Regions from separate parts of the Homo sapiens genome. Here all the other regions are linked to region 1. Evidence: promoter capture Hi-C in 16 types of primary human blood cells and fetal thymus (Javierre and others, 2016). All regions are on one chromosome and are shown on one strand. The core of a region is centred on a gene start or on the middle of the fragment in contact, and the rest is flanking DNA. Distances in the headings are between cores, read along the strand shown. Region 1 holds the start of UBE2Q1-AS1 (UBE2Q1 antisense RNA 1). Region 2 holds the start of DCST2 (DC-STAMP domain containing 2). Region 3 overlaps CKS1B (CDC28 protein kinase regulatory subunit 1B). Region 4 overlaps LOC105371449 (a long non-coding RNA gene). Region 5 holds the start of TPM3 (tropomyosin 3). Region 6 holds the start of LENEP (lens epithelial protein). Region 7 overlaps ZBTB7B (zinc finger and BTB domain containing 7B).

Region 1 (3,416 bases), core at 106-2,605:
TGGCTGGCAGCAGACCACGAAACCACTGCCCACACCCGCTCCGGGACCCTGAATGAAAATGCTGGATGGGGCTGCCCTGGAGATCCCACCACAGTAGCCCCACTCACACTCCTCCTCAACTTCCTCTCCAATCCCAGAGTCCCCACTCACTTGAGGAGTTTGACATTCCAATCATACAGACTGTCATTCACGAGTTCGACTGCATAGTTTCCTGGAAGGAGGGAAAAAACAGGTGTTAGTAGAATGGTCCAGGTGGTGAGTGGTCTCTAATGCAGACCCCTTTCCCAGACTGAGAGAAAAAGATCAACAGCTCTAGGTTCACCACAGATGGACATGCAACCAAGCCACTGGCTTGAGGAGCTCCATTCTTGGCCTGAAAAGTTCATAAGCACTCCTGGACCCCAGAACCTCTTGGGCCCCTTGCCACCATACCCTTCTTTATGGGTGACTCTTGTGCAGGCCCCTCTCTGGGGCAAACTCACCGCCTTTGAAACTCTGTGATCGGTATATATCCCTGAGCTCCTTCATCAGCCGGTCAGTGGCCTGCACCGAGCCAGACACTGCACCCTGTGAGGGACGGATGACAGGAACATTCCTTGGTCGTGTGGTTTATAAACACACGTTAGACCTTAGGGGCAGTCTGGCAGCTTGCCCAGGATTTAAGAAAGGATTAGGCACAAAAAAGGAGTCTGCTCTCCATACTGAGATGCGATGGCCTACTACTTCCCAGCCATTTCCCACCAACCCCTTCACCAGCCTCTCTCTAGAAGGCACGTACATTTAAGTAATCTTGCCTCTGGTTCTTTTTAATTTTCTCTAGGATGGCCAAGTTTTCTTTTCCAATGCCATCATCTTCAGATTTCTTGCCCTCAGCTGGCTCTTCCTCTTTCATTTCATAGTGATCTAAGTCTTCTGTGTCCTGGAGGAGGTGTGGGGTGGGAGTGAAAAGAAAAGGAAAAAAACCGACACAGGTTAGAGAATGACCATCACCTTCCCAGTCCCATTTGGCGAAGAGCCAAAAGTTAAAGTGAAGCAGTCCATCTAGCAGTCTTATAAACGCAACGTGCTTTCCATTTTTAGAACAATTTCCAGCCCCATTCCCTCCACAGTCTAAATCTTCAGCTCTCAAGCTACAGCAAGGACTTCGGAAACGAGCAGAGCTGCAGCTGAGATCGAGGCAGGGACTTAGCCCTCTTGTTTCCTGGACTGACCCTGCTCCAACTGTTCCTAAAACTCCCTTGGCAGCAGAAACTCTTCCCTAATTCCTAGCAGAAATGACTTGGGCCTGACCCTGTGACTCAAAGCTCATGTTTCACCAGGTGACTATTGCACCCGGGAGTTCTCAGGGCCCCAAGCCTAAAGGAGAAACCTGAATCATTACATCTCCTCTCCTCGCTACAAATGCAAGGCATGAATCAGGTATGCAGAGGCACGCACTGCCAGATGGAAATGAGAAAGGATGTCCAGAGAGATATATGGAAGAGGTCAAGAACAGAATTAGCCCCTTATTCATCCTGCTCTAAGTGAGCAAGCAACTAGCTCACTGAGCATAGGGAAGGAGGAGAACCTATGTAGGGTTGAGCCCCTCAGCCAGATGTTGGGGGTGTGGCCCAGAGGGCTGTCCACTATCTGGGAGGAGTAAATTTCATGTCGTCAGCCCTTTGCCAGTCTCAAGAACCTTACACGGTTATAGAACCTGGGATATTAATCTAATGCTAGGAAATAAAAGTAATCAGAGTGATCTCCCCATTTCTGGCAGGACATACCTAATTACCACACCAGCAGGTAATGTCTACTGAGTGTTTATTACATGCCAGGTTCTGTCCTAGGTGCCGCAGATACTAGCTCATTTCATTCTTACCACCATCACTCATTATTCTATCATTATCCATTTTATAGATGCGGAAGCTGAGTCTAGTGAGGTCAATTATCATGCCCAAAGTCACAGCTCTTAGCAGAGCTAAGATTCAGTCAAGTTCTGTCTAGCTCTAAAGCTCAAATTCCTAACCATGATTTTATATTCTGTATGTTTTTAGAGAATATATCAGATAGATTGTTTAGCATTTATCATGTATCATCTGAAGCATTTTATATATAACACCTCATTTAATCTCAAGACAACCATATGCAGTAGGTATTATAATCCTACTTTATAGATAAGAAAACTGTAGCTTAGTGAGATTACATAAAATTCCTCAATTAGGATAGCTAGGATGCAAACACAGGTTTGTTGGACTCCAAAGCCATTTGAAATTAACTTACCCAGTATTTGGTTTGAACCGCGCTGCACCTGTCTTCAGTGGTTGGATATGGGTGCCCTGTCTCCTCTACTACACTGGCTATTCCTCCAGGTCAGTAAATCTGTCTTTATTCCTTTGATATTTTTCTCTCTCCAGTTTTAGACTGGAGTTCTGGATATGGGTACCAATGTTGCTGACTGCAAGAGCTTCCAGCCAATGCCACCTCAGGGGGCAAGCCTACCTCAGGCATCTCCTCATCTTCATCTTCTGAAGACACGTCTTCCTGTGTGCACTGCAGCAAGGAAGGGAAAGATGGAGATCAGAGCCCCAGTGGCTTGCTAGAATGCAGCCTCCAACCTACTCCCCTGAGCCCCCAGGTCTGGAAGTTGTGCGCCTGCCTGTAATGCTGCCAGTCTCTCCACCAGCCAGATCTGAGTGGAAGCAACAGCCCAGGGAATGGCTTTGCTACCAGCCCATTATTTTTCGCCTATCACTGCCAAAGAATAAAAGAAAAGCAAAATGGCTGTCTCTGTCACCCACCTCCTAAATCCTAGTTTAATTCTCCTAAGAACCCCTCCTTTACTTGATCTTCTTTAGACTGATATTGCATTCTTGGTTCTCACCAAGGGGCCTGGGTCCCCAGTGGCCACCAACTGTTATTGCTAAGATAATGGTAAAAATTCCCCCGCTCCCTTTCAACATCTGGGATGCTGCCCATGAGAATGAATTTTGATATCAGAGATGAAGCTACCAGTGCCCCATTTAGCAAAAGAAGATTCCCATCTGGAGAAGAACGAGGGTGAGAGTCATAAGACGTGTATGTTTTTGGGAGCCGGTGGGGATGGAGAGAAACTACTGATTTGTCTCAATTATTTACTGAGTACCCTGTGGGGCAACTCTGCACAACAGGGCCCGAGGCTCCTCAGCTGCTCACCTGCTCTGCTGGCAAGGGTTGATCCAGCATCTCCACATCTGGATGCTGAGGGAGGTTATAGAGTTTACACAGGTCGGAGATGATCCTCTTCAGATGCTGCAATAGCTACAGGTAGGGGAGCACAGAGACATCAAATCCTTCCCCACTCCGATCTGGATAAGTGCATGGATGAGCTCTTAGTTTGGGCCCCACACCAATAACTAGTTCTCTAAGCCTTATGGGCCACGTGGCTGTGGGAATGA
Region 2 (3,494 bases), core at 373-2,872, 480 kb after region 1:
AACTTTTTGTATTTTTAGTAGAGACGGGGTTTCACGATGTCAGCCAGGATGGTCTTGATCTCCTGACCTCCTGATCCACCGCCTCAGCCTCCCAAAGTGCTGGGATTACAGGTGTGAGCCACCGCACCTGGCCCCCCCGCTTTTTTTTTTCTTTAGAGATGGAGTCTCACACTGTCACCCAGGCTGGATTGGAGTACAGTGGCACGATCATAGCTCACTGCAGCCTCAAACCCCTGGGTTCAAGAGATCCTTCCACCATAGCCTCCCCAGTAGCTGGGACTACAGACATGTGTCATTACATCTGGCTAGTTTTATTTATTTTCTATTTTTTTATTTTTTATAGAGACAGGGTCTCGCCATGTTGCCAAGGCTGGTCTCAAACTCCTGGGCTCAAGTGATTCTCCCACCTCGGCCTCGCAAAGTGCTGGGATTACAGGCATGAGCCACCGCACCCGGCCAGGACTGGGTGCATTTTGAGTCCCCGGGATAGACATGCTAATGTGCTTACCTATGTGTTTCACACCATCCATGATTGACCGAAAGAACTTGCGGACCCGGTCAGCCACCTCTTTGGTCTTCCGGGCAATAGCTTTAATCTTGTTCAGGGCACCTGATGGGTGAGGGACAGAGGCACTTTGGAGTCTTCTCCTCTAGGGGCTGGTTCTCACCATTGCCCCTTAAGCAGGGAGTAGAGAGGAGGCCACCATTTCCAGAGGCGGGAAGCCTGGATTCTGGGGCCTGGGAGATCGTTAATCTGGGAGTGGAGGAGGCCAGAGAGCAAGGAGAGAGGGTTTAGCTGTGCCCAGAGTCCCTTCCAGGCCCAGATGCTCCGCGATTAGCACCAGCAGAGAAGGAGGCCAAAGGACTGTAGAACATGCAGGATGAGGGGGGCGAGGGGGGCCCGTGGGAGACAGTGGTAGAGGTGGGGGACTTACTGACAAGAGGTTGCTTGGCCCTCTGTAGCACTTCGGCGGTCTGGTTCAGGGCCAGCTCTGCCCCACAGGCTACAGCCTCGCTGGCCCGGGTGAAGTTGCGTAGAGTGTTGGCACAAGGCCCTTGAAGCACCAACCCAAAAGCAGCCACCAACAGTAGTGTCCGGCCCTGCCCTGGGGGCGACAGCTTTGTTAGAACCAAGACCCCAGCCCCAAACATGGCAGCAAGTCCCTTACATAAGCCTTCAGAATATTTCCCTTAACCCCTGCCTCTCCTCCAGCATCTCTTCTGCCCCAGCACCAGCCCCAGGACCTGCCCCCTAGCCCTGGGTGCCAAGCTCACTGGAGAAGGCCTGAGGCAGCAGCAGGAGGACAGTGGCTCGGACCTGGCGAGAGAATCCCATGCCCAGGCTAAGGAAGGCAGCCAAAGTGAGGGTGCCCACCAGGCAACCCCAGGGGCTGTGGCCTTCCACCAGTAGCTCCAGAAGCCCGTAGGCCGTGGCTAAAGACAAGCCCAGGGTAAAACCTCCCACGCTGCGAACCACAGCTCTCGCCATGCTAGGCTCCTCTCCCCCCAAGGGGTGCACAACATCCTTCATGACTTTGGGCATGGCTGCTGAGACCAAATGTCTGCCTGTCTCCAGGAGATGCCCGCTGACTTCTGTGCTCCTGGAATTTCTCACCGTATTCTAAGGTTCCAAAGGGCTTTCACTGCATATGTCTTGGAATCCTTGACCCAGTTCCGAGGACTGGAGAGGGGATAGGTAGGTCTCTAATCTCCTTCCCCACTTCTCGGAGCAGAAGGATTAAAAGGCCCAGAGCTCAGGCCTAGGCTTCCCATGAAGCGGAAGAGACAGGCAGCACCTCTCTTCTCTCACCAGAACCTTGTGTCCAAGGAGGTCCTTCAGGAGACCTGGGATGAGTGGTGCTTCCCCAAAACAGACTCATGGACATTAAACATCATCAGAATGGCACAAGAGGGCAAAGAAGAAAACAGCCTCATACCAGTGAGTCACTCAGCAGAGACCCAGTATCCCTTGACCTCCACTCTCATCCCATCTCTCCTCCTGGAACTCCTGCACACTATCCCCCAACTCGGTGTCCGCGCCTCCACCACCTCTCTGGTCTAGTGCCTCCCGCCTCCCAGCCCAGCCCTTGCCTTTGCTGTCCCTTACACCCATACCACTTCCTCAGGCTCCCTCATCCTCCTCCAGGGTCCCCTAAGTTCCTACTGTTTCACATGCCAGGTTTCCCCAGCCTCTATCCACCTGCAAGCCCTGAATCCTAATGAGCCCCATCCCAGGCAGAAGAGTGGGCTGTTGAGCTACCCTGTCCCCCTCTTAGCGGTGCAGAGGCTCCTGACCTGGGGGCTGCCAGTCTCCTGTAGCTGGTTCCTGTGGCGCCAGCCGGGCGAGTTTCCTGTCACTGCTCTCCTGCTGGGGGCAGGCGCTGGGGGGCTCCTGGCCATAGGTGAGTGTGGAAGCAGAAAGTTCGGGGTGGGCAGAGGCTGGACCAGGGCTAGGACCCATCTTTTGGCCTTTGGCTTGACCTTGTGCCCTTAGGTCTCTTTCAGCTCCTGGTGAACCCCATGAACATCTACGAAGAACAGAAGATTATGTTCTTGTACAGCTTGGTGGGTTAGTGCTGGGCAAAAGCCAGGAACACTCAAGCGGCCTGTGGAACACAGCGCCGTCCTGCATGCCCAGGAAGGAGTCGGGACTTGTTTCTTCTGTACCCATACATCCCCTGTGGCTTCCGCCTCCTCCTGGGCTTTACGGGGAGGTCCAGAGGGAAGAGGCTGCCAATTTAAGAAGGAAGACACCGTCCTTGCCCTGAGGGAGTCTCTCCATTCCGAGGGACTCCCCATCACCCACATGATATAGTCCAACCCCATAACCCTTCATAACTCTCATCTCTCCTGACCTGTCTGACCTCGTTTTCTGATCCTCCTAAGAAATTAAATTCATTCATTCATTCATTCATTCACTCAGCACTTACTGAGAATCTGCTGAGGATTTAGCAGTAAACAAGGATGACAAGCATCCAGCCGTTTTGCTTTGGTTTTGTTTGTATGTTTTTGTTTTCGTTTTGAGACGGAGTCTCGCTCTGTTGCCCAGGCTGGAGTGCAGTGGCTCAATCTCAGCTCACTGCAACCTCCACCTCCCAGGTTCAAGCCATTCTCCTGCTCAGCCTCCCAAGTAGCTGGGATTACAGGCACCCATCACCATGCCCAGCTAATTTTTGTATTTTTAGTAGAGACGGGGTTTCTGTATGTTGGCCAGGCAGGTCTCGAACTTCTGACCTCAAAAGATCTACCTGCCTCGGCCTCCCAAAGTTCTGGGATTACAGGTGTAAGCCACCGTGCCCAGCCCAGTTTGGATAATTTAACAGCTCAGTAGCTTCGAGAAGGACTCAGGTTCCTTCTGTCTTTTCTCTGCCATCTTCAGTCTATTGACCACTTCTCTTCAGGTCACAAGATAGCTGCAGCAACTCTGGCATCACATCTTCATACAATAATATCAAAGATCAGAAAAAAATAAAAAAAGAGGAAGAAACAGGCCA
Region 3 (3,115 bases), core at 585-3,084, 420 kb after region 1:
GCTAGAAAGTCAGTCCCCTACTTTTGCTAACTCCAGGACGCTCCCCCATCCCACGCTTCGAGAACGCCCCCCGCCCCGCCACCGCCTTGGAGGCTGACCTCTTACTTTCGGTCGGTCTTCTTCCCTGGGCTTGGTTTGGGGGCGGGGGAGTGTCCTAAGGGCCAATTCAGCGTGATGTCTCTTTCACCACCATTGAAAACGAAACCAGTAGTAAACTACGCGTGTTTTCATTTATATGTCGGAGATAAAAACACAGGGACAGAAAGAGGGGAACAACAGACATTGGGGCCTGCTTGAGGGAGGAGGGTGGGAGGAGGTAGAGGTTCAGGAAAAAAAAAAACTGTCGGGTACTATGCTTAGTACCTGGGTGATGAAATAACCTGTACACCGAACCCCCGAGTCAGGATTTTACCTATATAACAAACCTGCACATGTACCCTTGAACATGAAACTTAAAATACTGAGAGGAAAAACGGAAGAGGGAATGTTGGGGAAAGCTTCCTAGAGGGCAGAGCCTGAGATGAGACTCTAAGAAAAAGGTATGTGGGAGGAAGCACCTCTTGACTGAAATTGTTTAGAAGACACTGGATAGCCATCTGCCAAGGATGGTGATGATGGAATCCTGGCACTGGATGTGGCATTCGGGCTTGATAAATTTTAAGTGCATAATCTAGATTGGGAATAAGGGAAGACACAGGATTCCACAAATGTTGGCATTATGCTAATCTGTATTAATTGTAATAATTAAGACCACTTCCTGGTTTGTATCTTGTCTCCTCAGTTGGAGAACATAAAATGAAAACTTGCTTTTCTTGTGTCTCTTCACCCAGCCTAGTTCAGGGCTTTGGGTCTTCCAGAGAACTCGATGTGCATTGACAAATACATAATCATCTTTATGCCAAGACGGCTCCAGACCCTCCTTTAATTAACTTTCTTTTCCTCAGCTGTTTTCCTCTACATCTGAACTAAACTAACTTAAAACTGTATGTGCTTATAAGAGATTTGTGGAGCTGGGAAGGAATCACCATTTCATCCCCTGGAAGATGAAACTCTTGGCAGTGGCACTTTGGTTTAAGAGGGGTTTTTTGGTGTATGTATTGAAGCCAAATTTCGTGCCAGGGTGGTGTTAGAATGTGAGCTATTTTCATTATATTTGGACTAGAATTTTTTCTTTTAGGAGAATGGTGGGGAATCACTGTTACTAGCACAGAGGGAGAACTTAGTACATTTTCATTGAGCATGACGAAGACTATGTGGATTAGTTTGATTCACATCAGGGTAATAATTTTTTTGCTATGAAGGGAGACTTATCCTTGGTTAGAAAAGCACGGAATTTACCCAGAAAGTCTCAAGGTACATCCCTCCAGAGTTAGGAAAATAAGATTCAGGATAGATTTAATTTTTTTTTTAAGAGACAAGGTCTTGCTTTGTTGCCCAGACTGGAGTGCAGTGGCTATTCACAGGCACAACCATTGTGCATTGCAGCCCTTTCTTTTTTCTTATTTTTTTTCTCTTTTTTTGAGACGGAATCTCACTCTATCGCCCAGATCTCAGCTCACTGCAACCTCCGCCTCCTGGATTCAAGGGATTCTCTCCTGCCTCAACCTCCCAAATAGCTGGGATTACAGGTGCATGCCACCACACCCGGCTAATTTTTGTATTTTTAGTAGAGACGGGGTTTCACGTTGTTGGTCAGGCTGGTCTCCAACTCCTGACCTCAAGTGATCCACCCACCTCAGCCTCCCAAAGTGCTGGGATTACAGGCATGAGCCACCGCCCCTGGCCTATTTCTTCTGTATTTTAATCAGATTTCAAACTTCATACTGTATCTTTTTCAAACTCCTGGGTTCAAATGACCCTCCTGCCTCAGCCTCCCAAGTAGCTGGGACTGTAGGTTTGTGCCACCATGCCTGGCTTAGATTTTAAAGGACAAGATAGTTCATTTCATCCTTTGTAATAACTTGTCCACACAGTACTTCATAAAAGGCCTTTCCTCGCCACAAAATAACTTCTCTTCCTTCCTTCTAATTATTAACACTGTGTGCTCCGTGGGGCTCCCATTATGTTGTAGATAATCAACTAGAAGACTATAAGGTCCATGAAGGCGGAGAAAATGTGCCTTGAACTTAAGTGCTCATTCACTGGAATTATTCACTAATTTGTATTTTTAATATACTCTCGGAATTTATATAACATAGCCTGTATTTCTAGCTGCTGCTACCCCACAATAAAATTATATAAACTCTGACATCAAAAACCAGTTTTTCTTTCCTTTCTTGGCCTTGTAAACAGGCATTTGTCTAAGAGACTGTATCTGGTACTAACATAAATTCCCCACTTCCCCGTTTCTGTTACAGACATGTCATGCTGCCCAAGGACATAGCCAAGCTGGTCCCTAAAACCCATCTGATGTCTGAATCTGAATGGAGGAATCTTGGCGTTCAGCAGAGTCAGGGATGGGTCCATTATATGATCCATGAACCAGGTCAGTGCACTGGCTAAAAACAACCATATAGAACTGCTACACTGAGAGAATGAAAGAATAAGATTGTATAACCCAAATAGGGAGATAGGAAATGGTTTACTGGTTCCTTCCCCCTCCAGTCGTGGGGGATTTTTTTAAAAAAAAACTAGTGACCAAAAATAAGACTAAAATATCTGGGAAGTTCAGAGACAACCTGTCACTGAAAAACCTCCTGTAATCTTTCATTCAATCAGAGGGTATTCTTTTTAAGGCCACATATAGCCTGATCATAGCCCCTGCCTCATTCTCCATCGAAAACATTCTTGGATGTGTTCTAAATAAGCAAAGGAAAGTATATTTATTGATAAGACACCAGACACCCAGCTGCCAGGCAAAACTAATAAGGGACACCCTGGGGCTGTATAAACATAGCAAAAGAACTGATATTAACAATTCTGTACTTGGCAGACAGTCCAGACTTCTGGGTCTGCTTCTAAGGCCATATGCTTAAGTCTTTATTTAGTTATAAAGATCTGAGTGGGTGATAGCTGGGGAGGTGGTAGTGGAATACACTATAGGTTGTACATAGAATGGTGTGAGCTTGTCTCTTAGATTTCCCTCACTCTTTCAGAACCTCACATCTTGCTGTTC
Region 4 (3,278 bases), core at 655-3,154, 360 kb after region 1:
CAAATGAACTGGGTGATGATGGAAAAACAAAAGAGGTGTAGAATGTGTACAATGGTGCATTGGAACCAGCTTCAGCCACCTTCTACTGGCTTGCAAGAGCCAACATTTTGCATGTTCAGGGATTTTGCTAGCCAGCTGACATCCCACTGGTAGATTGAAATCAGCCACAGTGGGAATATTTACACTACAGAAATGGTCAAACACTACAAATCAGGGCTGTTTTTCCCCTTCCAGGGAGCTGATTGTTAAACATTTGCCAGCATGTGACTGTCTATAATGAGTAAGAGTAATGCAACGGGAGGCAATTTGTTCTTGCTTCAAACACATTCGCCATAACTTAATACATCCAAATGACTGCTAACTGCTTCATGACAATAAGCTTAGGAGGTCATATTGTTTTCTAACACATAAACTTTCTTCATTGTCACAAACATGTATTGAGACCTACTGATATGGTTTGGATGTTTATCCCCTCCAAATCTCATGTTGAAATGTGATCCCCAATGTTGGAGGTACAGCCTGATGGGAGGTGTTTGGGTCATGGGGCCAGAACCCTCATGAATGGCTTGGTGCCATCCCAGTGGTAATGAGTGAGTTCTCTCTCTGTTACTTCACAGGACAGCTGGTTGTTTCAAGGAGCCTGGCACCTCCTGCTGTCTCTCTTGTTCCCTCTCTCACCATGTGACACGCCTGCTCCCCCTTTGCCTTCAGCCATGAGCGGAGGCTTCCTGAGCCCTCACCAGAAGCAGAACAGATGCTGGTGCCATGCTTGTATAGCCTGTAGAACTCTTTACTTCATAAATTACTCAGTCTCAGGTACTCCTTTATAGCAATGCAAAACCGACTAATATACCTCTACTATGTGCAATGTACCAAAGACTCGAAAGGAAAAAAACCTTTCCTTACTTGCTCACAGCATGGTGGAGGAGTGAGAAAGTGTACACTGTGGAGCATTCTGGAAATGGAAGTGGAGTGCCCCTTGCTCTGCTCAAGTTGTAGGGGTCCAAGCCCAAGCAACTAGGAAGGGTACTTTAGGCAGCATGAATGGCACATGCGAAGATACAGAGGCTTGATTACTAAGGCAACTTTTAAAAATTCCTCTCTGAGAATTAACTTTGGTAAGTTTTAGAATTATTACATTACAGGACTATTTTTCCTGGCCATAAGATGTCTCTTTCACCAGAGTTTAGTACCAAATTCCCTTTGGTCGTTTCCAAAACCCAAATGCACTTTTGGGGATGAGAATTTGGCAGAGTTGAGGGCAGGTCCTCAAAGCAAAGAGGAGCTCCCAAAGCCATTTGATAAAGGCAACAGCCCTGAAGTGTCTCAGCCCAAATGCCCAAGGTGACTACTTTAGGTTACAGCAGACAGTTGGATGCACAAGACCATTTCAGTTCCCATCTCATTATTCAATAATGCTTTACCAGGAACAATAAGATGCCAACTTTTTCCTGTTAAGACACGTCCATATCTCTGCCTTGGAGAATGCCAGGATTTGAATTTCGAAAATGAAGACAAAAAGAAGAAAGAAAATATCCAAAAGCATCCAGGCAAAAAAAGAAGGTTACCTTCAAAGGAACAAAAGTCAAGGTGACCTCATACTCTCCAGACAGTGGAACCAGGTCATGAAACTTATGCCAACCAAGTCATTGTCCAAATATAGAGGCAAGAGAATGTCATTCTCTCATACATATAGGTTCAGAAAATAGATCATGGCCGGGCGCAGTGGCTCATGCCTCTAATCCCAGCACTTTAGGAGGCCGAGGCAGGCTGATCACTTGAGGTCAGAAGTTCGAGACCAGCCTGGCCAACATGGTGAAACCACATCTCTACTAAAATACAAAAATTAGCTGGGTGTGGTGGCACATGCCTGTAATCCCAGCTACTCAGGAGGCTGAGGCAGGAGAATCACTTTAACCCAGGAGGCAGAGGTTGCAGTGAGCCAAGATCATGCTGCTGCACTGCAGCCTGGGCGACAGAGCAAGACTCTGTCTCAAAAAAAAAAAAAAAAATCATCTACATACCATTTTCAAAAAATTTTTCAAGACACATTAACTATCTGGAGAGGAATCAAAATACAAAATTCAAAAATGGGGAAGTTGAGGTACTATAAAAGGATTGAAAATGAGCAATAAACCGGTGAAGTCTAAATTATAAATCATTGTTGTAAATTTGGTTTAAAGTTGGATGTTAGTCATTTGTGTGAAATTCTAGAACAGGCAAAACTAATCTATGGTGAAAGAATTCAAAACAATTGTTTCTGGGAAAGCAGGGATTGAGTAGGATGAGTTAAAAGGAAACCTTCTGAAATAATGAAAATGTGTTCTATCATGATAAGGGTTTGTGTTATACAGGTGTGCACATTTGTCAAAACTCATTGTACTGTATTCTTAAGGTCAGTACATTTCACTGTGTGTGATTATACCTGAATTTAAAAAATAAATATGTTAACAATATTGAGCCAGGTGCGGTGGCTCATGCCTGTAATCTCAGCACTTTGGGAGGCTGAGGTGGGCGGATCACTTGAGGTCAGGAGTTTGAGACCAGCCTGGCCAACATGGTGAAACCCCATCTCTACTAAAAATACAAAAAGTAGCCGGGTGTGGTGGCATGTGCCTGTAATCCCAGCTACATGGGAGGCTGAGGCACAAGAATCAGTTGAACCTGGGAGGCAGAGGTTGCAGTGAGCCGAGATCACACCACTGCACTCCAGCCCAAGCAACAGAGTGAGACTCCAACTCAAAAAAATAAACAATATTGAGTCTTCCAATATATGAATGTAGTATAATCTCTTTGCTTATTTAGTCTTTTAATTTCTCTTAGCAATGTTTTGTCATTTTCAATGTACAGATGTTATGTCTTCTATCAGATTTATCCCTATTTCATATTTTGATGGTATTGTAATTGGCATTATTTATCTCAATTTGATTGCTCATTGCTAAGAAATAGAAATATTGACTTTTGTATATTGACCTTGCAACTTTATTGAACTCACTTATAAGTTCTAATAGCTTTTTTGGAGAATCCATCCAATTTTCTACATAGATGATCATGTCATCTATGAATAAAAGGAGTTTTATTACTTCCTTCCCAATTTAGATGGCTTTTTTTTTCTCTCTCTTATTGCACTGGCTAGAACCTCCAGTAGAATGTCGAATAGGTGATGAGAACAAACATCATTGCCTTATTCCCAGTCTTAGGGGGAAAACATTTAGTATTTCACCACTAAGTGTGTTGTTAGCAGTAGGGCTTTTACAGATATTCTTTATGAGGCTGAG
Region 5 (3,379 bases), core at 685-3,184, 360 kb before region 1:
TCTTGACCTCAGGTGATCCACCCGCCTCGGCCTTCCAAAGTGCTGGGATTACAGGCGTGAGCCACCGCACCCAGCCCAAATATGATTTTAAATATTACATGCTCCTTTTTTCCTATTAACTCAGTTCACTGAGAAACTTGTTTCCACCAATACTGGGACATTTCTGTTGTTGTTGGTAAGATTCCTATGGTACTTTTCTTCTAAAAAACTTTTCAATCTACTCTCTCATTTATCTTTGCAGCAAACTTCAAGGTTAAAGATGAAGGAAAGTAGGTGATGATGATGGGATAATATGAGATGGAAAAGAGAATTTATTTTATTTGAGAATGGGAAAATTCAGCCCTAGACAAGCTGAGTAATTACTCACGGTCATAGAGTGAAGTCTGGTGGTGATACCTTTACCCCCTAAGATTCTTTCTTAGTTTCTATTATACTCTGTCACTGTAGGGATCTCTCTGCTGCCCTAGGAGCAATGCTTCATATGGCATCTCCATGGCATAAAGGCAAATGCCTGCATTGGCCAAGATAAATAAACCCATATATGGCCAGGGTCAGTGTGACCTCCATTTCCCATTGTGAAATCCGAGCTGGTTTTGTTGGACAGTTGAGAGATGAGAGGTTCCCTATTAATACACATATCCACATGCCAAGACTTGGACATAAAAGCTAAGAATGTGGCATGGGGGAGGAGGTAGGATAAGTGACAGCATTCTGAACTTAGAGTCCCCTCTCTTTGTCCAGGTCCTGGGAAAGATAATTAAATTCCTGGGTTGGTGATAGGAGATAAATGAGACCTTTACATGTATTAAAAAAAAACTTTTAACATGTTGGAGATGTCTTTAAGAAAGAAAATACATGCCATTATGAGAATATACCAGCATGTGGTTATATGCAAAAATGTATGTGAGTATATATGTCTGTGTTCCATGAACCCACAAGTGTGTTTGGAATTTCGTCATACATTAACATAAAGATCTATATGTGTAGATTAAACCCATCCTCCATCTCTCTAATACTCACATCAGCAGCCTTCTTCTCTGCCAGTTCCAGCTTCTCCTGGGCATCCTTCAAAGCTTCAGAATACTTGTCCAGCTCATCCTCTGTCCCTTTCAGCTTCTTCTGCATGGCTGCCAGCTCATCCTCCAGCTATAGGAGCCCAGAGAGTCACACACAAAAACACACAAACACAACAATGCAGGGTTGGACCCTGGGCTCTTGGAGCCCTGAGTGTAACCTCCATGTTACCATCCCTAGTGAGACACACTTTCTCCCCAGCCACTTCCAGCCCACTGCCTCAGGAGTTATGCCGTAGCTTGGCCTGTGACCCTGTAATCTCTGATCCTAAGATGACCAAGCCATCCTGGGTTTTCATCCAAGACCCCTGGATGATAAATATCTAAAGTGTAGATGCCCGTGATGCTATTTGAGTGAAAAGAGATGCTCTTTCCCTCTAGAACTCTTACCTTTTCCTCTAGAAGTCAAGGGTTCTTCCAAAACATGGTCCATTTCTACTTAAATTCAGCAGACATACTGTGGCTCACTGACTTTCCCAAGGTCACAAAGGCAGTCTGAGACAGATATGTTAGATATCCTCTGCTCCTCCAGTGAGGCTGGGGAGTCCATCCCACCCCCAAAAAGGAGGTGACACCAGTAGTCACTGTCTTTCCCATGAAAACTCCCTTCCATTTCACAGTCTTGTTCACTAGCAGATGAGAGAGATCAATGCCAGTGCCTACCTGTTTACTTCTTTCTTCTGCCTGCTTCTGCTCAGCTTCAGCTTGCTCTGCCCGATCCAGAGCATTCTCCTTGTCTAACTTCAGCATCTGCATCTTTTTCTTGATGGCCTCCATCATGAGCAGTGGCTGTTGGTAGGCTCACCTGTGAACACTGGAGAACTGGAGACTGGGGCAAGAAAGAAGGGGCTGCTGCCTGAGTGACCAGGAGGTCCCCAGACTTGAGTCTTTATCTGTGCTCATAGCTCCACCTTTTGTTCCTAATATGGTCTTTCCAGCTCCCTCCACCCCATCATTGTTCTCCTGGGGGAACACAGGGTGAGACGCTTTGATGAACTGACATCACCAGCAAAAAAAATATCTAGCAACAGCTGAGGCTGATTTTAGACAATGGAAAGTGGGGGAGGGAAGAGGTTCTCCCTGACCCTGAAACTTTCCACTCATTCTGGGCAGCTCTATGGATGTTTTAAAAGAAGAGGAAGAGGGGAGGGAAGAACATTGAAATAGAGAAGTGTACTTTGGCAATTCTAGGTTGGCAGTTTGCATCCAGGGGGTCCTGGTTGCCTTTCAGCTTCCCGTTTCACTCTCCCCCAGACTGTGTTGAATGCTGGTCAAACTCCGTTAGTTGAGTTTTAGCTTTTGATTCCTGGTATTCAAGGAGCTTGGGCACAGGGAAGAGGGGAGGTCACTCATGATCCTTAACAATTCTCCCAGATCCCCAGATCAAATTGCTGTGCTATTCTGGGAGTCTCCGATTGGCAGGGAGACGTTTTTCCTCCCCACCAAGAGCCACAAGAGTAGAGTAAGAGGTAGGGTTGGAATCTCCAACCCTATCCTTGAAGGCTATCCCAGAGCTTCAAGTGGGGTGGGGAGAGAAACAGGGGAGGGTCAGAACAATCCAGACAGGATCATACCCTTTGTTTTCCCACAGTAATCTTAAAATAGAACTGTTGTACCCACACAGACTTTGGTCTGTGTGGCTCTCTCCTCTTCTTCCCTTTATCTTCTCCCTTCTTAATTCTCCCCAACGCTGCCACTCACCACATCATCGTAATCATCATTATCAGCTCTATTCTTTCCAGTTTAGTTCCAGACCATGTTTATTCTTCCATTGGGAGCCTTGTTACTAACAGGTGGCAAGGATACCAGTCCACTGGCACCATACACCTGAAAATATGCCAAGGGAGAGGTGGGCACTGTTCAAGGTGACCAGATATATTGGACAAATATAAATGGCTCTAGTTAGTCATTTATGTCAGGATACTGAGAGTTAATGCTAAGCCCCAGCAATGGGGGAACGGAGACACCCACCAGGCCAGTGGGTAGAGCAGAGCTGGAGTCCACTATTGAGAGCTTCCAGTCACTAGAGGTAGATAGGCAGATAGACCATCAGCTGACTCTCGACAGAGAGAGGAGAAACCAAGTCTCCTTTCTCTGGAGATTAGCCAGGGAAAGGGGTTAGGGAACAGGGAGAGGAAGGAGTGGAAAATGGGGGGGGGGTGGGCAAGTGAATAAGGGGGAGAAAAATACGAGGACAAGAAAAGGCAAAGAAATGTCCCTTCTAGTATAAGGGGACAAGAAATAGAAAGATTCTATCCTCAAATTCCAACTCTCTCCCATTCCCACACCAGCCCTCTTAGGTTAAG
Region 6 (3,511 bases), core at 914-3,413, 440 kb after region 1:
AACCCGGCCCTGAAGTGCCTGAGCCCAGGAGGACACCCCACATACCGTCCAGCCTATCTACTGGAGAACGAAGAAGAGGAGCGGAACTCCCGCACATGACCTCCCACCCTAGGAGGGAGGGAAGGACACCGTCCTAGGGTATAACCTGGCAATAAACCGTGCCTCTCACTGTGCCTGTTGCTCTAGCTGTGTCTTCCTGCTCCAGAGGATGGGAGAAGCAGAAGTGGGTCAAATGCTGCCAGCTCTGACTGGCTGTGCTCACTCTAAGGGGCCCAGGGGCAGGGCAGAACAGGCTGGAAAGGAGCTCTCACTGATGGTTCTCAATGTCAGCCTCAGCAGGAGCCCACCAGAGGGCGAAAGCAGGAGTTGTGCCAACCACTGGGAAAAGGGCAATCAGGCAGGGCACCACCTGGGCTGGAAGAGGGGAAGCTGCCTTGGCCTAGCTGTGGAGGATGAAAGATGGAGTGGCCAGGCCCTCCCTCCCACTAACCCCACCCTCCCATCCCTGTCTAGAGGGGCTGACTCAGCCTGTTCCCAGGCCTAGAACCTTCCCTTTGCTAGACCCTGGATCCTTTGTCTCTGTAGTCATGAGGCTGAAGGGGGTGGGGACAGTGTTGATAAAAGGCACTAGAGGCAGCTCCCACACCCTTCCTCGGAACTGTTGCCCACATGCAGCCCCGGACACAGCCCCTAGCCCAAACCCTACCCTTCTTCCTCGGAGGGGCCCCTCGAGACACTGGGCTGCGGGTGCCTGTCATTAAGATGGGCACAGGGTGGGAGGGCTTCCAGCGGACCCTGAAGGAAGTCGCCTACATCCTCCTCTGCTGCTGGTGTATCAAGGAACTGCTGGATTAATGGTAGCAGGGAACTGCCTCCTCTCCCCACCAGCACCATGGCTGGCATCGCTCAGGTGGGCAGGGTAGAGTAAACAGGAGGCATAGCTGCAGCTTCTGTGGCAGAGCTTGCCTTAGCTTCTCATTCTCTTCTTTAGCCCCCAGCCCAATTGCCATCAAGACTCCTGAAGCCAGCTGTGCTTGACCAAGGATGGGCCATAAACAATGAGTAAACAGTAAAGTGTGGATCCTGCTTTGAGCTGTGTCATCTAGCAGACCTGCCTCATCTCTGAGCCTCCTTCATTCCCAACCCCTGCCTCTGGTGGACCTCTGGTGGGCAGGAGCTTGGACTGCTCTGGCTAGGACCCCAGTAAGATTGTGGCAAGACCTGGCACTCCTCCAAGCTTGGCACAGTGAGCCCACCAGCTCAGATGGTTGATCTTACCATACCCTCATAGTACCAAGAATGGACTGCCCCCTAAGAAACCTGTTTGAGAATCACTGAATTATAAATATAATCCATAGGCCTTGAGGCCCAAGATTATAAGTGTCTAAAGGGGAATCAGAAAAAGTCAGCACTAGAACGGTCTGGGAGCAAGGGTGCAGACCAGGGAGGGAAGGAGCTTGTCCTGAATAGAACCAAGATTGAAAGCCAGGTTTTCTGACTCACTGGTTCCTGAGTGGGGAGGGTGGAAGACAGTTCAGGTTCCTCTCAATCTGTGGGTAAGGAGGGGACCCAGCTTGAGTAGGGTCTTCATCTGTGAGGCCAAGGGTGTGTGGAAACCCAGAGGACCCAGCCCTTTCCCAAATAGAAGACCTGGTCCAGGCAGCTTCCTGCCTCTGAGGATCTTGGGGAAAGCACTGCGCTGAGGCTAGTCCCCAGCTCATCAAGGAAGTAGGACCCCATGAGCTACAAGAGCTCCCAGCTCACATACAAAGTTACCAGAGAAAGACACCTGTGTGGCCACACAGGTCCCTCAGGCTTATCATGACACAGCCCTATCAGGACATAAACAGCTAGATTGAGCAGAATTGGCTCTTTACTTCCTCTTGGTAGCCACAGCTGGTATTTTCCATGAGTTACTCCCGGTGGTAGATATACACCAGCCATGTGTATCGTCTTGCTCAGGGGGTGCTTATGCTTACTGATCTGCCCACCCACAGCCCCCCAAACCTCAGAGCCAGCCTGTTTGGGACTGTTCAGTATTTCCCTGGGATTCCCATCCAGCATTCTCTGGCCCCTCCTGGGGGGCCAGTTATCATCCCCCAGCCCTTTGTCACTTGGGGCACTGGCCTGGAGATTATAGATAGTGCCCTCTTCCTCCCTGCCTGGGACCAGCTCTTCCTCAGCCTTCTTCTTAGTTAACTCTTTTTTTTTTCTAGATTCTTTTTGTAAAGGTGATATATGCCCAGAGTAAAGAACTTTAGGCCAGGCCAGGTACAGTGGCTCACACCTGTAATCCCAGCACTTTGGGAGGCAGAGGCGGGCAGATCACCTGAGGTCAGGAGTTCTAGACCAGCCTGGCCAACATGGTGAAACTGCATCTCTACTAAAAATAATTAGCTGGGCGAGGTGGTGAGTGCCTGTAATCCCAGCTACTTGGGAGGCTGAGACAGGAGAATCACTTGAACCCGGGAGGCAGAGTTTGCGGTGAGCTGAGATCATGCCACTGCGCTCCAGCCTGGGGGACAAGAATGAAACTCTGTCTCAAAAAAAAAAAAAAAAAAAAAGGCCGGGCGCGGTGGCTCACATCTGTAATCCCAGCACTTTGGGACAAGGCCGAGGTGGGTGGATCACTTGAGGTCAGGAGTTCGAGACCAGCCTGGCCAGCATGGTGAAACCCCATCTCTACTAAAAATACAAAAAAATTAGCTGGACGTGGTGGCACATGCCTGTAGTCCCAGCTACCTGGGAGGCTGAGGCAGGAGAATGGCTTGAACCCAGGAGGTGGAGGTTGCAGTGAGCCAAGATTGCACCATTGCACTCCAGCCTGGGTGACACAGCAAGACTTCGTCTTATAAAAAAAAAAAAAAAAAAAAAAGAACTCTAATAGTTAAAAGTCTCCACGTCTATCCCCCAATCCTTTAGCGCTCCCCCTGGAGGCAACCATGGTTACCAGTTTCTTGGAGAACATTCCAGTCTGTGCATAGACTGCATCTTCATTCATTCAACAAATATTGAGTTATTGAGTGTATATTATATGTCACTGTGGGTCTTTGGATGCAGCAGTGAACAAAACAGATCCTTGTACTTGTGAAGCTTACATTTTAGGGGGTGGAGAGGACAAACTATAAACATTTTTTAAAGTATGTATATGTTATTAGATGATAGGCACTATAGAAAAAAGAAGTGGAAATCGAGCTGGAGGTGGGAATGGGGGCAGGTCATAGAGGGCCTAAGAATTTGAGCTTTTATGCTGAGTGAAATGAGGAACTATTGCCGAATATTGAGTGTGAAATGAGTTTTTTAATTTAAAAGGCTCAAGCTGGCTGCTGTGTTGAGAATAGATTTCAGGGGAGCAAAGGTAGAATACGAGTGACCTATTAGGAGGTAATGGCACAATATAGGCCAGACATGTTGGTGGTCTCGGACCAGGTTTATAGCAATAGCAGTAGTGAGGGGTGGCTGGATTCTGGATATATTACTCTTCCTAGTTAACATACTCTCCACGCTGTTC
Region 7 (3,146 bases), core at 239-2,738, 460 kb after region 1:
TGTGACCTCACCATCCGGACGCAGGGCCTTGAATACCGCACCCACAGGGCTGTGCTAGCTGCCTGTAGCCACTACTTCAAGAAGCTTTTCACTGAGGGCGGTGGCGGAGCTGTCATGGGGGCCGGGGGTAGCGGGACGGCCACTGGGGGAGCAGGGGCCGGTGTGTGTGAGCTGGACTTTGTAGGGCCAGAGGCACTAGGCGCCCTCCTTGAATTTGCCTATACAGCCACACTGACCACCAGCAGCGCCAACATGCCAGCTGTGCTCCAGGCTGCCCGCCTGCTGGAGATCCCGTGTGTCATCGCTGCTTGCATGGAGATTCTGCAGGGCAGTGGGCTAGAAGCTCCCAGCCCGGACGAGGATGACTGTGAGCGAGCCCGCCAGTATCTGGAGGCCTTTGCCACAGCCACGGCCTCTGGAGTTCCCAATGGTGAAGACAGTCCTCCACAGGTGCCCCTCCCACCACCTCCGCCACCGCCACCTCGGCCTGTTGCCCGCCGCAGCCGCAAGCCCCGGAAAGCTTTCCTGCAAACCAAGGGGGCCAGAGCAAACCACCTAGTCCCTGAGGTGCCCACAGTGCCCGCCCATCCCTTGACCTATGAGGAGGAGGAGGTGGCGGGCAGAGTGGGCAGCAGTGGGGGCAGTGGGCCGGGGGACAGCTACAGCCCTCCCACAGGAACTGCCTCCCCTCCTGAGGGTCCCCAGAGCTACGAACCCTATGAGGGTGAGGAAGAAGAAGAGGAGCTGGTATATCCCCCAGCCTATGGGCTGGCGCAGGGTGGCGGGCCCCCGCTGTCCCCAGAGGAGCTGGGCTCAGATGAGGATGCCATCGATCCTGACCTGATGGCCTACCTAAGCTCCCTGCACCAGGACAACCTGGCACCAGGCCTGGACAGCCAAGACAAGCTGGTGCGCAAACGCCGCTCCCAGATGCCTCAGGAGTGCCCTGTCTGCCACAAGATCATCCATGGGGCAGGCAAACTGCCTCGCCACATGAGGACCCACACAGGCGAGAAGCCCTTTGCCTGCGAGGTCTGCGGTGTTCGATTCACCAGGTGAGCAGCAAGGGGGGAAGGGCCCGGCAGGGGCCATGGGTAGGGGACAGGGTGGGAGGAGATGGGGAAGAAGTTAGGAGACCCGAGGTGGTGGTAGGTGGTCCTGGAGGGACTGGGGCATGGGTGGGTTACTGGAGTGAGGAGAGCAGAAGAAAACAAGCCAGCAGGGGGTGGATCTGGAGCATGGAGGATTCGGTGCCCAGGAGGGCAGTGCTGGAAGCAGAGGAGTGGATAATGACAAGGCCTAGTTAAGCTAGAGGTGAGCTAGCAGGGTATCTCCTGGGGCAATAGTGGGGTAACAAATGGTGAGGAACAGGGATGGGACAAGGCCAGGGTGGGATGACCAGGAGGAGCCAGGGATCCCATCCTGAACACCTCCCTGCCCCTCACCCCTGCCTGTGCCAGGAACGACAAGCTGAAGATCCACATGCGGAAGCACACGGGAGAGCGCCCCTACTCATGCCCGCACTGCCCAGCCCGCTTCCTGCACAGCTACGACCTCAAGAACCACATGCACCTGCACACAGGGGACCGGCCCTATGAGTGCCACCTGTGCCACAAGGCTTTCGCCAAGGAGGACCACCTGCAGCGCCACCTCAAAGGCCAGAACTGCCTGGAGGTGCGCACCCGACGGCGCCGCAAGGACGATGCACCACCCCACTACCCACCACCCTCTACCGCTGCTGCATCCCCCGCTGGCCTCGACCTCTCCAATGGCCACCTGGACACCTTCCGCCTCTCTCTAGCTCGATTCTGGGAGCAGTCAGCCCCCACTGGGCCCCCGGTCTCTACCCCAGGGCCCCCTGATGACGATGAGGAGGAAGGGGCACCCACCACACCCCAGGCTGAAGGTGCCATGGAGTCCTCTTAAAGAGGGACGAGGGCCAGACTGAAGCAGCACAAGGCCGGGGACACCCATGCCAAGCAGTGGGAGCACGCAGGACAGACACAGCAGGGGTCTGGGGCACGGAGCCTTGCTGGCATCAGCATCAGCCCTTCCTCCCAGAGCCCTCATTCCAATTCCAAGCTAAGAAGGTATTGGGGCAGAGGCTCCCCAAATTGGGGTGATCCCCCAAGGAGTGATACATATATTGTGTATATATTTACAGCTGTATTGTAAAAGTGGGGTCCCTGTCCCCAGCTGCTCCTGGGGAGTAGAAGCAATAATGTATTTCTAATTTGTGGGTCCCACTTCGGCTATGCGGGTTTCTAGGGGGTGGGGGCTTGGGACCAAAGCCTTGCCCCGCCCCTATGCCCCTTGGGGGTTTTGGCTGTGTAAGGGGGTGAAGGACTGCCCCTCCCTTTCGAGACCCCTCCTTCCTGGTTTCTGTTCCTTTTTCCTGGCAGTGAATTATGCAAAGGGGGCCGGCAAAGGAAGGGTAGGTGGGGGAAAGCCAGGTGGAAGCTTGAAAGACTGGGGGACTGGGCCTGTAAGGAAGGAGCCATCCCAGTCCCCCTCCGCCCTGCTCCCGGCGCTGAGTCATGGGGTCGTGGAGAAGGGGGCGGGGTGGCCTGATTGGCTCGCCTGCCCCTGGGGGCAGTAGAGGGGCCCCGCCCAGCTAGGGGAGCCGCTCCGTTCCACTCCCCTCCCTAGCCCTCCCTCCCCACGGCCCTGGGCAGGGAATGTCTTGTTCCCGCCGCTCCCTCCCCGGGGCCAGAGGGCAGGGCGGGCCGGGCGGCGTCCTACCCTCTTCTCCTCCTCCCCATCTCCTCCCCGCCCAGGTGCGAGCCGGAGCCGCCGCCACCGCTGCCGCCCCTGACTCACGCCGCCCCCGGGCTGGCGCAGCGAAGGGTGTGGGACAGGGTAAGGGGTTGGAAGAGCCTTGTGGAGAGCGGGCGAGCCGGCGCCATCTGGCGGCCATGCTCTGAGTGGGCGAGCGCCCCCCGCGGCCACTGGAGCGAGCTGTCTTCACGCTCCTCATCCACCCCAGCTGGTGAGCGGCGCCCCCTTGCCAAGGCAGTGGGCACAGAACTTCTCGCTTGGCCGCAGGGGAAGGGGCTGCGGACCTGTGGGAAAGTGATCCCCTTCCCAGATCCTTGCCAGCCGGGCTTCCTGTCAGGCAGGGGAGAATAATCCCCACTCTGCTCTTA

The links. The method cuts DNA at HindIII sites, captures the fragments that hold promoters and counts their contacts. A CHiCAGO score of 5 or more calls a contact.
Region 2: a contact is called between the fragment with the promoter of DCST2 here and the fragment with the promoter of UBE2Q1-AS1 in region 1, in 7 of 17 cell types (erythroblasts, fetal thymus, total CD4 T cells and 4 more). The highest score is 8.8, in erythroblasts.
Region 3: a contact is called between a fragment that was not itself captured here and the fragment with the promoter of UBE2Q1-AS1 in region 1, in 2 of 17 cell types (M1 macrophages and fetal thymus). The highest score is 5.6, in M1 macrophages.
Region 4: a fragment that was not itself captured here is called in contact with the fragment with the promoter of UBE2Q1-AS1 in region 1 in 5 of 17 cell types (M1 macrophages, endothelial precursors, M0 macrophages and 2 more); the score reaches 6.8 in M1 macrophages.
Region 5: a contact is called between the fragment with the promoter of TPM3 here and the fragment with the promoter of UBE2Q1-AS1 in region 1, in 4 of 17 cell types (M0 macrophages, M2 macrophages, endothelial precursors and 1 more). The highest score is 6.0, in M0 macrophages.
Region 6: a contact is called between a fragment that was not itself captured here and the fragment with the promoter of UBE2Q1-AS1 in region 1, in 5 of 17 cell types (endothelial precursors, M0 macrophages, megakaryocytes and 2 more). The highest score is 9.4, in endothelial precursors.
Region 7: a contact is called between a fragment that was not itself captured here and the fragment with the promoter of UBE2Q1-AS1 in region 1, in 6 of 17 cell types (M1 macrophages, endothelial precursors, naive CD8 T cells and 3 more). The highest score is 6.2, in M1 macrophages.

What each region holds. Positions count from the first base shown.
Region 1 is chr1:154,552,254-154,555,669 of GRCh38, forward strand. UBE2Q1-AS1 (UBE2Q1 antisense RNA 1) reads left to right here and starts at 1,356. Exons shown (of 2, transcript NR_046668.1): 1 at 1,356-1,419; 2 at 2,397-2,775. It overlaps UBE2Q1 (ubiquitin conjugating enzyme E2 Q1), which reads right to left. Exons shown (of 13, transcript NM_017582.7): 3 at 3,175-3,279; 4 at 2,482-2,532; 5 at 779-919; 6 at 483-567; 7 at 151-211. The HindIII fragment of the contact is 6,880 bases long and covers 1-3,416 here.
Region 2 is chr1:155,032,159-155,035,652 of GRCh38, forward strand. DCST2 (DC-STAMP domain containing 2) reads right to left here and starts at 1,623. Exons shown (of 15, transcript NM_144622.3): 1 at 1,276-1,623; 2 at 936-1,106; 3 at 509-610. The coding sequence starts at 1,543. DCST1 (DC-STAMP domain containing 1) reads left to right here and starts at 1,666. Exons shown (of 17, transcript NM_152494.4): 1 at 1,666-1,696; 2 at 1,814-1,939; 3 at 2,277-2,402; 4 at 2,495-2,569. The coding sequence starts at 1,879. The HindIII fragment of the contact is 9,861 bases long and covers 1-3,494 here.
Region 3 is chr1:154,975,630-154,978,744 of GRCh38, forward strand. It overlaps CKS1B (CDC28 protein kinase regulatory subunit 1B), which reads left to right. Exons shown (of 3, transcript NM_001826.3): 2 at 2,358-2,485; 3 at 3,096-3,115. It overlaps MIR4258 (microRNA 4258), which reads left to right and starts at 64; the gene lies at 64-154. The HindIII fragment of the contact is 2,679 bases long and covers 496-3,115 here.
Region 4 is chr1:154,913,314-154,916,591 of GRCh38, forward strand. The region is part of intron 1 of LOC105371449 (a long non-coding RNA gene); the gene reads right to left. Among named protein-coding and RNA genes, the nearest start is that of PMVK, 22 kb to the right of the region's middle. The HindIII fragment of the contact is 3,055 bases long and covers 378-3,278 here.
Region 5 is chr1:154,190,166-154,193,544 of GRCh38, forward strand. It overlaps TPM3 (tropomyosin 3), which reads right to left and starts at 1,935. Exons shown (of 10, transcript NM_152263.4): 1 at 1,737-1,935; 2 at 1,021-1,146. The coding sequence starts at 1,853. The HindIII fragment of the contact is 3,875 bases long and covers 1,072-3,379 here.
Region 6 is chr1:154,992,939-154,996,449 of GRCh38, forward strand. It overlaps LENEP (lens epithelial protein), which reads left to right and starts at 648. Exons shown (of 1, transcript NM_001394530.1): 1 at 648-1,377. The coding sequence starts at 670. The coding sequence ends at 855. It overlaps FLAD1 (flavin adenine dinucleotide synthetase 1), which reads left to right. Exons shown (of 7, transcript NM_025207.5): 7 at 1-173. The coding sequence ends at 99. The HindIII fragment of the contact is 1,856 bases long and covers 1,236-3,091 here.
Region 7 is chr1:155,014,760-155,017,905 of GRCh38, forward strand. It overlaps ZBTB7B (zinc finger and BTB domain containing 7B), which reads left to right. Exons shown (of 3, transcript NM_001256455.2): 2 at 1-1,055; 3 at 1,461-3,146. The coding sequence ends at 1,926. Among named protein-coding and RNA genes, the nearest start is that of ZBTB7B, 14 kb to the left of the region's middle. RefSeq lists an enhancer at 2,516-2,660, a silencer at 2,557-3,026 and a cis regulatory region at 2,588. The HindIII fragment of the contact is 1,940 bases long and covers 519-2,458 here.